3 separate regions of the Homo sapiens genome follow, and all the other regions are linked to region 3. Evidence: promoter capture Hi-C in human tissues and cell types (Jung and others, 2019). All regions are on one chromosome and are shown on one strand. Each heading gives the region's core, a stretch centred on a gene start or on the middle of the fragment in contact. The rest is flanking DNA. Distances are from core to core; before and after follow the strand shown. Region 1 has its middle 83 kb from the start of EVL. Region 2 overlaps EML1 (EMAP like 1). Region 3 holds the start of YY1 (YY1 transcription factor).

Region 1 (2,718 bases), core at 93-2,592, 260 kb before region 3:
TACAAACAGTCTCCATTTCTCACCCTTAGCCTATACTAGCTATCACAGTTGGGTCCAAATATATTTCTGAACCCAGTGCTGCAAATTGCAGGTACGGGGCATTTCCTAAGGTGGCTTTTGTAAGGGCTATAGGGATTCCGTGTGTATCTTTCCAGGCTCTCTTGTTCTGTCTGCCTGTTTTTAGGCCTATGCCATTACCATATTTACCTTGTGGGCAGTGATTTTAATTTGAGCGGCATCATTGATTAATGTTATTTTGAATTTTGCTGGTTTGGTGATTTTGTTTGTATTTAATTTATAAGTTTGTTTTTTGCTTATCTAGTTATATAAACATAAGACATTTAAACTTAGTTTTATAGTTGTGTATATAAGCTGGGTGTGGTGTCACATGCCTGTAATCCCAGCTACTCGGGAGGCTGAGCAGAAGGATGGCTTGAGGCCAAAAGTTTGAGACCGGCGGCGGTGGGCAACATATTGAGATCCTATCTCAAAAAAAAAAAAAAGTGTAGGCATCTGCTTTTTAGGCTTTTGGCTAGCACTTCTGTTGATTAAGAAAAATAATAGGCCAGGCATGGTGACTCACACCTGTAATCCCAGCACTTTGGGAGTTTGAGGCAGTGGATTGATCACCTGAGGTCAGGAGTTGGAGACCAGCTTGGCTAACATGGTGAAACCCCATCTCTACTAAAAATACAAAAATTAGCCAGGCGTGGTGGCGGGCGCCTGTAATCCCATCTACTTGGGAGGCTGAGGCAGAAGAATTGCTTGAACCCGGGATGGGGAGGTTGCAGGAGCCGAGATCATGTCATTGCACTCCGGCCTGGGCAACAGAGTGAAACTGTCTCAAAAATAAAATTAAAAAAAAGAAAAGTAACAATTATATATATAAGCTGAATGAATATAAATTAAATCATATTGTTTCACATACAGATTTTTCCCCTTTAAAGAGAATATGTGTACTGCCCATGTTTGAGGAACCTTGCAGTAGACTTACCCTGGAGATACAGTGGGTGCACAATAAAGCAGTAAAGCAAATATTGTAAGAAAGCAAGTCACATGAATTTTTTTGTTTCCAAGTGCATATAGAAGTTATGTTTACACTATACCATAGTCTGTTAAGTATGCAGTAGCACTATGTCTAGAAAATGTACATACCTTCATTAGAAAATACCTTATTGCTTAAAAATGCTAGCAAAGTGAGCATAGGGTATTGGAAAAAATGATGTCAATAGATTTGCTCAGGGCAGTTGCTACAAACCTTCAATTGGTAAAAAACGCAATACCTGTGAAGCTCAATAAAGTGAAGCCCAATGAAACGAGGTCTGTCTGGATAAGCTTGATGAAGGGACTCTTGAGTTGCCACATGAATGTATCGCAAGTGCTGCAGTAAGAGTGGTGGTAACTCAGGGGAAAGCACTTCCAGCTGATGTCGGGGTGAGGGTGAGAAGAGTGGCCGGTCCCTTCATGAAACAGTTAAGGAGAGTATGAAAACAGAATGGTATGATATAAAGAAGACAATACAGATAAGCATTGATCCTGCTCTTTACAGATAACCACATCAAACCTGTGGTGTAGTTCCTTTATCATTCCCAGGTACAAGTGAAACATTTTTACAAAATTGAAAGTGTACTGTATATTTGTATTGGGCATTGTACATTTGATATATGTGCACTTCCCCCTTACTAAATATTCTTTGAAAACAGCTAAATATTCTTTGAAAACAGTTAAAATAGCTGAATAATAGTCTGTCAGATGGTATACTATAATTTATTCGTAATATATATTTTAATGGTATTTTTGGGACCAAAGGGTATAAACATTTTAAAGGCTATCAATATATACTACCAGAATGTTAATTTTAAAGAAGAAGAAGATAAAGTTAGTGAATAGAAGTTTAATCCTAGAGGTTTAACTTGGAGGTTCTCCCAAAAACAAGCACCAAAGGAAGGACTTTGGAAAGGAATCAGGAGAGAGAAGTAAATGGGGTTAAGAGGGAGAGCGGGGGGAAAAAATACTGTACTTTGAAATGGTGTAGTTCTGTCTGCTCACCAGGGGAGGGAGCCCTGTTCCCAGTTCCTCTGTGAGCGATTCATACGAAGATGCATTGTCTTTGTCTTTAGGGCTGTGTGAAAGACATCTACTCTTCAGTTTGCAGTTAATGTAGGTATGTAAAGGGACTTCTTAAAAAGAATTTGAGTTAGATTTAAAATGTTTTAGTTTAATTTAACCCCTGTATACTGAGCAGCCTGGGTTTTAGAGTCAGACCTGGATTCTGCCCCAGAGGTACTACTTATCAGCTGACTTTTAGCAATTTACGTAACCTTTATGAGCCTCCGTTTTTCTCAAGTATAAATGAGGACAGTTCACTTTCTTCAGAGGGTTTTGTGAGGATCAAATGAGAATACATGAGAAGTTCTCAGCTTATGATATTCAGTAAAGGTTAGTTATCTGCCCTACTCCACCCCACCCCAGCCTCACCACCCTGTATTTATTTTCTAGGGTTTATCTTCCATGAGGATATGGGACAGTTCTGGTTTCAAATATTCTGCCCTTTTGTCAGATGACTATATGACTTCATATGTGATAAATTTTGGTTTAGAAACTGCAGTTGCTATTGATGCATCACCTTCTAAGAAAGATCCAGTGACATTCTCTATGAAAGATGAAATAGACAAAAGAAAGATAAAACAGGAGACATAATATTTGGACGTAGAGGCG
Region 2 (2,700 bases), core at 66-2,565, 320 kb before region 3:
TTCTCGGGTAAATTCTTAGGAGTGAAATTGACGGATTGTATGGTAAACTTATGTTTAACATTTTATGAAACTGCCAGACTGCCTGTCCTATTTTACATTCTCGTCAGCCATGTGCTAGGGTTCTAGTATCATCACATCCTCCCAATACTTGTTATTGTCCTTTTGATTATAGTCATTCTAAAGAGGGTGTAATGGCATCTCATTGTGGTTTTAATTGGTGTTTCCCTAATGACTATTGATATTGAGCATTTTTTAATGTGCATATTAGTCATTCCAATATCTTCTTTGGTGAAATATCTATTCAGATATTTTGCCAATTTTTAATTGGGCTGTTTGTCTTACTGTTGAGTAGTAAGTCCTCTTTATATATTCCGTATATACAGTCTTTATCAGATAGATGATTTGCAAATATTTTTTCTGAATGTATGGCTTATCTTTTTTTCTGTTTGTTTGTTTTTGAGACAGCATCTCACTCTGTCACCCAGGCTGGAGTGCACTGGCATGATCATGGCTCATTGCAGCCTTGACCTCAGGTCCAAGCAATCCTCTCACCTCAGCCTCCCAAGTAGCTGGGAACACAGGCACACACCACCACGTCTGGCTAATTTTTGTATTTTTGTTAGAGACAGGGTTTCGCCATGTTGCCCAGGCTGGTCTTGAACTCCTGGGCCCAAGTGATCTGCCTGCCTCGGCCTCCCAAAACTGCTGGGATTATAGGTGTGAGCCACCATGCCCAGCCTTCATTTTCTTAATGGGGTTTTTTAAAGCACAAAAGCTTTCAATTCTGATGAAGTTCAGTTTATCAATTTTTCCTTTTGTGGATCATGCCTTTGGGGTCGTATCCAAGATCATGAATATTTCCTTGTATGCTTTCTTTTAGAAGAGTTGTTTTAGCCCTTGCATTCGAGTCTATGATCCATTTGAGTTAATTACACAAGAGTTACAAGAGTACACTAGACTTGTTTCTTGTGGATGGTGAGAAGGAAGAGCCTGTTTGCTCTGCATAGAGGTATCTAGTTGTCCCAAGCACTTTTTGTTGAAAACACAGTCTTTCCCTGTTGAATTATCAATGACACTTTTGTCAAAAATCAATCGATCAGAAATGTAAAGGTTTATTTCCGGATACTCAGTTCTGCCCCCTTCACCTGTGTTTATCCCCGATTACTGTGACCTTAGAGGAAATTTTCAAATTGAGTAGTGTCACTGCTGCAAATTTGTTGTTTTTTTCAAAATAGTGTTGGCTATTTTAGGTTCCTACTATATGTAAAATTGTATATAAATTTTAGGATCAGCTTGTCTTTTTTTATTATTTTGTTTTTTGAAATTTTTTTGTAGACACAGGGTCTTACTTTGTGGCCCAGGCCGGTCTCAAACGCCTGGTCTCCAGAGATCGTCTCACTTCGGCCTCCCAAAGTGTTGGGATTACAGGTGTGAGGCACCACACTAGGCCAGCTCGTCAATTTCTAACTTTGAAAAGCCTGTTAGGATTGTAAGAGGGATTATGTTTAATTTACAGATCAATATGGGGGAAATTGCCACCTGGACAATAGTGGCTCTTATCATGAGCAAAGACTGTCTCTCCATTTATTTAGGTCTTTACTTTTTCTCAGCAATGCTTTATAGTTGTAGGTGTACAAGTCTTGCACTTCCTTTGTTAAATTTATTCCAAAATAAGTGTTTTTTTTATGCCATTGTGAATGGAATTGTTTTCTGAATTTTGTTTTCAGTTGGTTGGCTGCTAGTATGTAAAAATAGGATTGAATTTTGCACGTAGATCTTATATCCTATGACCTTTCTAAACTTCTTTGATTAGTTTTAGTATAATAGTCCCTCCCAATCCACAGGGGCTACCTTCCAAGACCCCACACAGGTGCCTGAAACTATGGATAACAACAAATGCTAAGTGTACTATGTTTCTTCCTATATATACTTGCCTATGGCAAAGTTAAATGTATAAATCAGGTACAGTAAGAGATTAATGACAATAATAATAAAGTAGAACAATATAACAATATATTGTAATAAGAGTTATGTGAATATGGTTTCTCTTTCAGAATACTGTATTATACGTAATATTTGCAGACCACAATTGACCACAGGTTACTGAAACCACAGAAAGTTGTTTCAGTCTTATTATATTATATTAATATCACTACATTTTATTAAGTTTCTTCTGTTTTTCTGAGGAGAAAAAGCATTCAGTCTTTCATCATGAGGGATAAAGATGCCCTTTATCATAGTGAGAAAGTTCCCTTCTATTTCTAATTTGTTTGGAGGTTTTAGCATGAATGGGGTTGGAGTTTATCAGATGCTTTTTCTGCATCTGTTGGGATTATTATGTGGGTTTCATCCTTCATCTTATTTTATTAATATCACTACATTTTATTAATTTTCAGATGTTGAACCAACTTCACATTCCTGTGGTAAATTCCCCTTAATCATGGTGTATAATCCCTTTTACATGTGTTTGCTAGGATTCTATTAAGGATTTTTGCCTCCATGTTTCTAACAGATATTGGTGTATAGTTTTCTTTTCTTGTGGCATCTTTGTCTGTCTCAGTTATGAGAGTACTACCGGCCTTACAGAGCAAATTAGGAAGTGTTCTCTCCTCTGTTTTCTGAAAGAGTTTGTGAAAAGTTGGTGTTATATTAAATATTTGACAGAATGTATGTGAATTTGGTGAAACTACCTGGGCCTTT
Region 3 (2,700 bases), core at 66-2,565:
TTGGAATTTTAAATGAGACAAATGCAAAACCTGGTGGGCGTAAAAAGGAGCACCTATGAAAGTGACAAATAGGGGGAAAGGGTGGGCAAGGGAAACAATGGCTGACTGGAGAGCAAAGAAGGGGAAGCTCAGGAGAAAATTTTAGAAAGCCGCCAGGACCCTGTAGTTCTAAGATCTACGGGGAAACAGGCACCCAACGGCTGCGTCTCAGGTTTCCGCGGGTCACTAAAGAATAACGGACATCCTCCCAACGGTGGCCCTGGGGCTCCGCGGGCGCTTCCGCCGAGCTCGCGCCGACCCCGCGCTCGGCCCCGCACCCCGCCGGGCGCTCGCGGCGAGATACCGGACGCTGCCCGCGTCGCCCGATTTTGTCCGTTCGGTCCTCCACACTCACCCCGCGGCCATCGCTCGCCCGAAGCCAGGCGACAAGAACAAACACCTCCCGACGCGAAAAAGGAAGCACAGGCGATTCTCGTCAAAGCAGACTTTATTGGGGCGACAGGGCCGCCCCGCACGCGCCAGCCGCTCCCCGCGCGGCCCCCGGGCCGCCCACCCGCCTCAACCCCGCTCCCGGCCGGCCCCTCCCTCCCTTCTCCTCAGGCTCCCGCCCCCGTGGTGCCCGGGGCCGCGCGGACCGCTCACCGGCTCCCAAGGCAGCGGCTGTAGCGGCGACGCCCCGTTCCCGAGTGCGGCCCCGGCCCGAGGCGGCGGGTTTTGTGGCTGTTGCACCGCGAAGGGCGGCAGCCGCGCGACACCGGGAAGCGGGAGGCGGTGGCGGCGGCGGCGGCGCGCTGACGTCACGCGCCGCGGGCCAGCCAGGGCGCGTGCGAGCCGCCCCGCCCCCGGTCCCATCGGCCCCAATCCGGGAGGAGCCCGGCGAGTGGGCGGGGCCGCGGAGGCCAGCGGACAGATCGATTGGCCGAGAGGAGAATCGAGAGGGCGAACGGGCGAGTGGCAGCGAGGCGGGGCGGGCTGAGGCCAGCGCGGAAGTCTCGCGAGGCCGGGCCCGAGCAGAGTGTGGCGGCGGCGGCGAGATCTGGGCTCGGGTTGAGGAGTTGGTATTTGTGTGGAAGGAGGCGGAGGCGCAGGAGGAAGGGGGAAGCGGAGCGCCGGCCCGGAGGGCGGGAGGAGGCGCGGCCAGGGCGGGCGGTTGCGGCGAGGCGAGGCGAGGCGGGGAGCCGAGACGAGCAGCGGCCGAGCGAGCGCGGGCGCGGGCGCACCGAGGCGAGGGAGGCGGGGAAGCCCCGCCGCCGCCGCGGCGCCCGCCCCTTCCCCCGCCGCCCGCCCCCTCTCCCCCCGCCCGCTCGCCGCCTTCCTCCCTCTGCCTTCCTTCCCCACGGCCGGCCGCCTCCTCGCCCGCCCGCCCGCAGCCGAGGAGCCGAGGCCGCCGCGGCCGTGGCGGCGGAGCCCTCAGCCATGGCCTCGGGCGACACCCTCTACATCGCCACGGACGGCTCGGAGATGCCGGCCGAGATCGTGGAGCTGCACGAGATCGAGGTGGAGACCATCCCGGTGGAGACCATCGAGACCACAGTGGTGGGCGAGGAGGAGGAGGAGGACGACGACGACGAGGACGGCGGCGGTGGCGACCACGGCGGCGGGGGCGGCCACGGGCACGCCGGCCACCACCACCACCACCATCACCACCACCACCACCCGCCCATGATCGCTCTGCAGCCGCTGGTCACCGACGACCCGACCCAGGTGCACCACCACCAGGAGGTGATCCTGGTGCAGACGCGCGAGGAGGTGGTGGGCGGCGACGACTCGGACGGGCTGCGCGCCGAGGACGGCTTCGAGGATCAGATTCTCATCCCGGTGCCCGCGCCGGCCGGCGGCGACGACGACTACATTGAACAAACGCTGGTCACCGTGGCGGCGGCCGGCAAGAGCGGCGGCGGCGGCTCGTCGTCGTCGGGAGGCGGCCGCGTCAAGAAGGGCGGCGGCAAGAAGAGCGGCAAGAAGAGTTACCTCAGCGGCGGGGCCGGCGCGGCGGGCGGCGGCGGCGCCGACCCGGGCAACAAGAAGTGGGAGCAGAAGCAGGTGCAGATCAAGACCCTGGAGGGCGAGTTCTCGGTCACCATGTGGTCCTCAGGTGAGCGCCGGCCGCGCGCCCCGGCCCCGGGATGTTTTTGTTTTGAAGGGAAGCCATGTTTTATGTGTGTGATGGGCGCCGCCATCTTCTTCGCCAGGGCAAGTATGGCGGCCCCAAAAGATGGCGGGCCGTGCGGCGGCGGGGGCGCGGCGGCGGCGGCGGGCGGCGGGCCGCGAAGATGGCGGCAGGCCGCGGGGGGGAGGGGCCGGCGCCGCCCGGCTAGGCCGCAATGGCGTAGTTTCTCCGAGAGGGGGAAGCGCCGCGCGGGGCGGAGACGGCCGGGGGAGGGGCCGGCGCGCTCGCTCCCCGACGCCCTCGCTCCCCGCGCCCGCATCAACGGGCGCGCCCGCCGGCCCGTTGTGGCGGCAGCTGCGCGCCCCCGGCCCGGGCGGGACGCGGGAGGTCGTTGGCGGGGCTGCGCCGCGGCCTCGCGGGCCAGGGATTGCTGCCTCCGGGACGCGCGCCCCCGCCCCCGCCCGGCGCTGCCGTTACCCCATCGGCCGCTGGAGGGCGCCGCGGGCGCTTGCCCCGCCCGCCCCCAACTTCCCCGGACTCCCAACTGCTCCCCGGTGGCACCTTCCAGAAGGAGGGGGCTTGGCACTCGT

Evidence for each region. The method cuts DNA at HindIII sites, captures the fragments that hold promoters and counts their contacts. A contact is called where the count stands out against the background at its distance.
Region 1: a contact is called between a fragment that was not itself captured here and the fragment with the promoter of YY1 in region 3, in 1 of the 25 tissues and cell types used here (IMR-90 fibroblasts).
Region 2: a fragment that was not itself captured here is called in contact with the fragment with the promoter of YY1 in region 3 in 1 of the 25 tissues and cell types used here (heart right ventricle).

What each region holds. Positions count from the first base shown.
Region 1 is chr14:99,980,584-99,983,301 of GRCh38, forward strand. It overlaps a transcript of EVL not described here. Among named protein-coding and RNA genes, the nearest start is that of EVL, 83 kb to the right of the region's middle. The HindIII fragment of the contact is 8,150 bases long and covers 1-2,718 here.
Region 2 is chr14:99,922,504-99,925,203 of GRCh38, forward strand. The region is part of intron 17 of EML1 (EMAP like 1); the gene reads left to right. Among named protein-coding and RNA genes, the nearest start is that of EML1, 130 kb to the left of the region's middle. The HindIII fragment of the contact is 6,286 bases long and covers 1-2,700 here.
Region 3 is chr14:100,237,829-100,240,528 of GRCh38, forward strand. YY1 (YY1 transcription factor) reads left to right here and starts at 1,316. Exons shown (of 5, transcript NM_003403.5): 1 at 1,316-2,095. The coding sequence starts at 1,417. It overlaps YY1-DT (YY1 divergent transcript), which reads right to left and starts at 793. Exons shown (of 2, transcript NR_189150.1): 1 at 643-793. RefSeq lists enhancers at 378-1,230, 2,068-2,227 and silencers at 468-1,067, 1,128-1,207, 1,358-1,427, 1,918-1,967, 2,238-2,700. The HindIII fragment of the contact is 4,615 bases long and covers 1-2,700 here.